Linked DNA regions of Homo sapiens: region 2 is linked to region 1. Evidence: promoter capture Hi-C in human tissues and cell types (Jung and others, 2019). All regions are on one chromosome and are shown on one strand. Each heading gives the region's core, a stretch centred on a gene start or on the middle of the fragment in contact. The rest is flanking DNA. Distances are from core to core; before and after follow the strand shown.

What was found. The method cuts DNA at HindIII sites, captures the fragments that hold promoters and counts their contacts. A contact is called where the count stands out against the background at its distance.
Region 2: a contact is called between a fragment that was not itself captured here and the fragment with the promoter of COG5 in region 1, in 1 of the 25 tissues and cell types used here (lymphoblastoid cells).

What each region holds. Positions count from the first base shown.
Region 1 is chr7:107,562,038-107,565,842 of GRCh38, reverse strand. COG5 (component of oligomeric golgi complex 5) reads left to right here and starts at 1,923. Exons shown (of 22, transcript NM_006348.5): 1 at 1,923-2,040. The coding sequence starts at 1,947. It overlaps DUS4L-BCAP29 (DUS4L-BCAP29 readthrough), which reads right to left and starts at 1,872. Exons shown (of 13, transcript NR_163941.2): 1 at 1,634-1,872; 2 at 1,167-1,255. It overlaps DUS4L (dihydrouridine synthase 4 like), which reads right to left and starts at 1,872. Exons shown (of 8, transcript NM_181581.3): 1 at 1,634-1,872; 2 at 1,167-1,255. RefSeq lists enhancers at 146-1,345, 1,876-1,995 and silencers at 1,696-1,795, 1,834-2,044. The HindIII fragment of the contact is 5,630 bases long and covers 763-3,805 here.
Region 2 is chr7:106,492,306-106,496,110 of GRCh38, reverse strand. No RefSeq gene overlaps it. Among named protein-coding and RNA genes, the nearest start is that of CTB-30L5.1, 100 kb to the left of the region's middle. The HindIII fragment of the contact is 3,547 bases long and covers 336-3,805 here.

The DNA of each region.
Region 1 (3,805 bases), core at 674-3,173:
AAAGAATAAATCAGTAGGTTTCAGGGGACTGGGCTCACACCTGTAAACTCAGCATTTTGGGAGGCCAAGGTGGGAGGCTTGCTTAAGGCCAGGAGTTTGAGACCAGCTTGGGCAATATAGTGAGACCCCCATCTCTAAAAAAATTATAAAAATCAGCTGGGCGTGGTAGCAAGCGACTGTGATCCCAACTACTCCAGAAGCTTGGGCAGGAGGATCCCTTGAGCCCAGGAGGTTGAGGCTGCAGTGAGCCACGATCCTGCCACTGCACTCCAGCCTGGGTAACAGAGCTAGACCCCAACTCAACAAAACAAAACAATCAGTAGCTTTCTACCTTAGTTGTACACTACAATGACCCGAGGAGCTTTTAAGAATTAGCATGCCCAAGCCATACCCTAGACCAATTAAATCCAAACGTCTGGGCTCAGGATGCAGGCATCAGTGTTTTTATTAAAGCTCTTCAGGTGATTTCAATGTGCAGCTAAGCTTGGAATTACTGGAATAAGTAAATCCAAAGATTCCAAAGCACCTGGTACAATTGTTTGTTTAAATGGGTTCCTACCTTACCTATTAACTCCTTTTAGAATATGGATTGAGTCTTATGTTTGTAAACTCATGAGAGCATGCAGAGTAGAGGGGTCAAAACTTTCGCTGTATGAATGAATATTACTCACTCTTCTAAAATCTTCCACTGGGGGGAATAAAGCCAAGGAAGGAAAAACAATTCCTAATTCACAAGTAATGAATGAATCACCCCTATTCCCATCATGACTAAGATCTTACATACTAGGGAAAATCCTCTGAGACAAAGAGAGCATAATGCAGTGTAGCATAAGACTTGCTTACCTGAGGTGTTATGAGTATGAAATGCATTGAGTTATAAAATACTTAGAACAGCGATAAGCACAGGATAAGTAATAGCACCTTTTTGAAACAGAATGTAGAAAACCACGTAGCTCTGGAACTGGATAAAATTGGTTTCCTGGATACATACCTACTGTACAAAATGAAAAAGTCATCTTCCAGCTTCTTTTTGCGAAGAAGCTTAAGACTGTCTTGCATACTTGTGGTTGCCTGACCCTGTTAATTTATCAGTATTTATCTTAGAAGAAAGAAATCTAGGTCAAAAACGCGAACGTATTAGTAAAGAAGATACAATGGGAACCAACCTGATGCTCTTACAGCGTCAATACTGTTAGTTGAGATGTGGACCATCTATCAGTTTGTAATTAAGAAAAAGTCTGGCACGTGACTGAAACTGAGGAAGAAGTAGAAAAGGCAAAAGGTCAAAGGTCTCATGGGAAGGAAGGAGGGTAGAGACAGTGAGTTTTATTGGTCCTTTTATGGTTCAGACTTCCTTCTTCATCGACTCTCCCTAATTCTCTTCACTGTTCATCCCCAGCAACTTTTCTTCCCAAGCATTTCCTGCGGGCTTTTATTACCCCAGGAGTGCCAATCAAGGCGTGGAACAGATAAAGCTGTGTAGCAACTAACGCGTGACTCTTGTGAGTGTGGAGGGCAAACGAAGCTCCCTGAAACCTCCGCTCTGCTCTCCTGCCTTACGCCGCGCGGCCCCTGTTCTGAGGTTTAATACTTGCTTCACAGATAAGCGCTGCGGCCACGTTCCGGTGCCCACCTTCTCCTTGGCTAGGGCACGACGCCAGCCCAGGGGGCGCGGCCCTGAGCTGCTGCGAGAGACAGCTGAAAGCGCCGGCCCGACGGCCTTGGCTCCCTCGGTGCGCTGGGCGCAGAGCACTCGGACCCTGGGCGCCCACTGCTCGAGTACCTGCGCGGCTCCTAGCCAGGCTTAGCCCAGGCGCGGGCTGAGAGTCAGTTCGCCAGGTGGGCCTGGAGCCATGGGCTGGGTGGGCGGGCGGCGCCGGGATTCTGCGTCACCACCTGGGCGGAGCCGTTCTGCTGCTGACGACATCAACCCGGCACCTGCCAACATGGAAGGTGGCGGCGGCAGCGTCGCTGTAGCTGGCCTCGGAGCTCGAGGCTCTGGAGCGGCTGCAGCTACAGTCCGGGAACTTCTGCAGGACGGTAAGGAGACGGGGTCTGACCAGGTCGTGGGGTTGGGGGTCTGCGCTGCTCCGCACCTGGACAGCGAGGTGGACCCAACCCGTTGCTTTGCAGAAAGTTTTCCAGTCTGGACGTGACCACTCCCCTCCGCCCGGCCCCCTGGCTTGGGTACTGTTCTAGCCAACCTATTTACTCTGGGACTGGCTCCCTCTTTTCTGGAGTCTTGGGGACACTTGGTTTCTGTGTGTTCCTCATTTCAACTCGACCCCCCCCCCCCCCATGCCTCCAGCTTCCCTGAAGTTTCGGGAGCCCAAACCCTGTGGACCGCGTTGGCAGCCACCGGCTGCTGCCGCAGTTCTTGACGAAGGGGTGTAGCGTTCGAGCTCTTCAAAAGTGTAAGCTCTAGAACAGACGGCAGACGCATAATGAAATAGGGCCTTGTTTTAAAGTAGAGCTGGAAACGCTTACTCCTTTAACAAATGGACTGTACAGGTGACCCCTCTTACAGGCTGGTTTTTTTTTTCCTCCTTTATGAGGCAGTTATCTACAGTGACACGTGGGGGAGGGTTTGAGACATTTGTTCAGGTTGGGATTAACCATTTGTACAGAATCTAGCAGTCAGATTTTATTGCTAGTCAGTTTGGAGAGAAGTTGCCCAAAATAAGAAAAGTTAGATATAATATACTTGAAAAGCATATTCAGTTGTGTCAATCCAGTTACCATGTCCCGAATCTCTTATCCTTCAGAATAAAGTTCACATTTATAAGCATAAAAATAAAGCCCTTCTCACCTGTTCTTAATTTTTTCTCTAGTGGCCATCGCATTCTACCTTGTACTAAAATCATTTGTATACTTGTTTTAATCTCTTCTGTATTGCAAACTTTTTTTAATATCCCACAGTGTGAATAGCAGTATCTTGCATACAGTAGGTGCAGAATGTTTTTTAAATTCATCATCGCAGTTAGAAGCACATGCACACATTTGAAGACCGAAGTGGGTAATAAATGAAATAAAGTTCCAAATTATTGTTTATTTTCTCTGACTGTTAAATATTTTATTGTCATCCTGAATTACGTGCCTTTTCATGATAATTTATGTACTTTTGTCAAAAGCAATGATGTTTTCTGAACTATTTCATGTTGGAAACTCTAGGACCGGGTCTCTGTCTAAAACTTGGCTAAACTGAATTTAAACTTTAGATACAAGGCAGAGACCCTGATATATTTGCAGTTGCTCCTGATACACGTGCAATTTTTGCCCTCAAGTAGTTCACCATCTAGTAGAGGAAATAATCTTGTAGACTATAAAGGTAGGTGCTGTAATATAGTGATGTAAGATAGCAGTAGGATTGCATATAAAGTAGAGCATTAATACAGAGGAGAATGATAACTGGGGGTTGGAAACTGGTTAGGAAATGTCAGAAAAGGCTTTCTAGGTGGAGACGTTTTAAACTGTAGACAGGACTTCCCCAGGTGAACAGTGGAACATTGGATATATGTTTCAGTAGGATGTATTTCAGGAATTGTAATCAGTTCTTGGACGGTAAATACTCTTCAGTTCTGCCTTCTGTATTTTCCTCCTTGGTTCTCTGCCATTCTCCACAGTGATTGTTTAAATCTTCTTTACCCTTTTCAAACCTTTCGCTTCAAGCTCAACAAATGACTTTAAGCTTCCCTGGGGAGAAAAAGAGGATCCATCAGATGTGAACTTTCTCCATTTCTTGCCCATCAAACCTATGAATTTAACCTCAACGTATAACCATCTGTTGCACCTTTTTTCCCTTGCC
Region 2 (3,805 bases), core at 860-3,359, 1.1 Mb after region 1:
GATGTGCTGCTGGATTTGGTTTGCCAGTATTTTATTGAGGATATTCGCATCGATGTTCATCAAGGATATTGGCCTGAAATGTTCTTTTTTTGTTGTGTCTCTGCCAGGTTTTGGTATCAGGGCGATGCTGGCCTCATAAAATGAGTTAGGGAGGATTCCCTCCTTTTCTATTGTTTGGAATAGTTTCAGAAGTAATGGTACCAGCTCCTCTTGGTACCTCTAGTAGAATTTGGCTGTGAATCTGCCTGGCCCAGGGCTTTTCTTGGTTGGTAGGCTATTAATTACTGCCTCAATTTCAGAACTTGATACTGGTCTCTTCAGGGATTCGACTTCTTCCTGGTTTAGTCTTGGGAGGGTGTATGTGTCCAGGAATTTATCCATTTCTTCTAAATTTTTTAGTTTATTTGCATAGAGGTGTTTATAGTATTCTCTGATGGTAGTTTGTATTTCTGTGTGATCATTGGTGATATCCCCTTTATCATATTTTATTGTGTCTATTTGATTCTTCTCTCTTTTCTTCTTTATTAGTCTGGCTAGCAGTCTATCTATTTTATTAATCTTTTCTAAAAACCAGCTCCTGGATTCATTGATTTCTTAAAGGATTTTTGTGTGTGTGTGTGTGTCTCTATCTCCGTCAGTTCTGTTCTAATCTTAGTTATTTATTGTCGTCTGCTAGGTTTTGAATTTGTTTGCTCTTGCTTCTCTAGTTCTTTTAATTGTGGTGTTAGGGTGTGGATTTTAGATCTTTCCTGCTTTCTCCTGTGGGCATTTCGTGCTATAAATTTCCCTCTAAACACTGCTTTAGCTGTGTCCCAGAGATTCTGGTATGCTGTGTCTTGGGTCTCATTGGTTTCAAAGAACTTGTTCATTTCTGCCTTAATTTCACTATTTACCCAGCAGTCATTCAGGAGTAGGTTGTTCAGTTTCCATGTGGTTGTGTGGTTTTGAGTGAATTTCTTAATCCTGAGTTCTAATTTGATTGCACTGTGGTTTGAGAGACTGTTTGTTATGATTTCTGCTGTTTTGCGTTTGCTAAGGAGTGTTTTACTTCCAATTATGTGGTCAATTTTAGAATAAGTGTGATGTGGTGCTGAGAAGCATGTATATTCTGTTGATTTGGGGTGGAGAGTTCTGTAGATGTCTATTAGGTTCGCTTGGTCCAGAGCTGAGTTCAAGTCCTGAATATTCTTGTTAATTTTCCGTCCCATTGATCTATCCAATATTGACAGTGGGGTGTTAAAGTCTCCCACTATTATTTTGTGGGAGTCTAAGTCTCTTTGTAGGTCTCTCAGAACTTGCTTTATGAATCTGGCTGCTCCTGTATTGGGTGCATATATATATACATATTGGGTGGGATAGTTAGCTCTTCTTGTTGCATTGGTCTCTTTACCATTATGTAATGGCCTTCTTTGTCTCTTTTGATCTTTGTTGTTAGTCTTATGGGCTTCCCTTTGTGGATAACCCAACCTTTCTCTCTGGCTGCCATTAACATTTTTTCTTCATTTCAACCTTGGTGAATCTGATGATTCTGTATCTTGGGGTTGCTCTTTTTGAGGAGTATCTTTGTGGTATTCTCTGTATTTCCTGAATTTAAATGTTGGCCTGTCTTTCTAGGTTGGGGAAGTTCTCCTGGATAATATCCCGAAGAGTGTTTTCCAACTTGGTTCCATTGTCCCCGTCACTTTCACATACACCAATCAAATGTAGGTTTGGTCTTTTCACATATTCGCGTATTTCTTGGAGGCTTTGTTCGTTCCTTTTCATTCTTTTTTCTCTAACCTTGCCTTCACACTTTATTTCATTAAGTTGATCTGCAGTGTCTGATGTCCTTTCTTTTGCTTGATTGATTCGGCTATCGATACTTGTGTATGCTTCACAACGTTCTCGTGCTGTGTTTTTCAGCTCCATCAGGTCATTTATGTCCTTCTCCAAACTGGTTATTCTAGTTAGCAATTCGTCTAACCTTTTTTCAAGGTTCTTAGCTTCCTTGTATTGGGTTAGAACAAGCTGCTTTAGCTTAGAGGAGTTTGTTATTACCCACCTTCTGAAGCCTGCTTCTGTCAATTTGTCAAACTCATTCTCTGTCCAGTTTTGTTCCCGTGCTGGTGAGGAGTTGTGACACTTTGGAGGAGAAGAGGTGTTCTGGTTTTTGGAATTTTCAGCCTTTTTGTGCTAGTTTTTCCTCATCTTCATTGATTTATCTACCTTTGATGTTGGTGACCTTCAGATGGGGTTTTTGTGTGGACATCCTTTTTGTTGATGTTGATGCTATTCCTTTCTGTTGGTTAGTTTTCCTTCTAACAGTAAGGCCTCTCTGCTGCAGGTCTGCTGGAGTTTGCTGGTGGTCCACTCCAGACCCTGTTTGCCTGGGTATCACCAGCGGAGGCTGCAGAACAGCAAAGATTGCTTCCTTTTCCTTCCTCTGGAAGCTTCGTCCCAGAGGGGCACCCAGCAAATGCCAGCCAGAGATCTCCTGTATGAGGTGTCTGTCAACCCCTGCTGAGAGGTATCTGCCTATCAGGATGCACGGGGGTCAGGGACCCACTTGGGGAGGCAGTGTGATCAGAGCCACTTGGGGAGGCTCTGATAAGAGCTTGAATGCTGTGCTGAAAGATTGGCTGCTCTCTTCAGAGCCAGCAGGCAGGAACATTTAGGTCTGCTGAAGCTGCACCCACAGCCACCCCTTCCCCCAGGTGCTCTGTCCCAGGGAGATGGAAGTTTGATCTATAAGCGCCTGACAGGGACTGCTGCCTTTCTTTCAGGGTTGCCCTGCCCAGAGAGGAGGAAACTTGAGAGGCAGTCTGGCTACAGCAGCTTTGCCAAGCTGCGCTGGGCTCTGCCCAGTTCGAACTTCCTGGTGGCTTTGTTTACACTGTGAGGGTAAAATCACCTACTCTAGCGTCAGTAATGGCAGATGCCCCTCCCTGTGCCAAGCTCAAGCATCCCAGGTTGACTTCAGACTGCTGGGCTGGCAGCGAGAATTTCAAGCCAGTGGATCTTAGCTTGCTGGGCTCCATGGGCGTGGGATCTGCTGAACTAGACCATTGGGCTCCCTAGCTTCAGCCCCCTTTCCAGGGGAGTGAATGGTTCTGTCTCACTGGCATTCCATGTTCCACTGGGGTATAAAAAAACCTCCCTAAAGGGGCTGACAGTTGAAGGCTATTGGCCCATGACATTCTCAGGAGCTGGGGCAATGGGGCTTCACTGATGTGGGAGCTGGGCAGTGCATCCTTGTGTCTAGCACATGGCTACTTCAAGTCATTTTTCCCAGCAGACTCTTCTATCACGCCTCAAACTTCTTCCCATTTCTGCCTGAGATAAACTTTCTCCATAGTTTTCAGACCAACATCATTTGCCCCAAACTCTCCACCCCGTCTCATGAGAGAGAGAGAGGGAGAGAGAGAGAGAGAGAGAGAGAGAGAGAGAGAGAGAGACACTAACATAATTACTGAGTTTCCTCTGTCTTCTCCCTCCCTCCCTCCTTCCCTCTGTTTTTCAGTCTCTTGCAGTCAAAAACATACTTGTTCAACACATCCAGCTAGGGTTTAAGGTGTAGTGTGGAATAGGACAGCAGTTTTTTTCTGGGATGCTACTTCATGCGTGGAGCACAAAACTGAGTGTGATCACTTCTAATAAGCTATTTGACTTAGCAAAAGCTAATAATGAGAGAAAAAGATTTTGTTATTTTTATTGTGGCTGTTATTCAGTCACTATAAGCTATCATATTATTATGTAGGGCCTTAAAATTTATTGAGAATCTACAGACAATGGAAAAGACACCAAAAATGTAAGTAGTTAAAACATG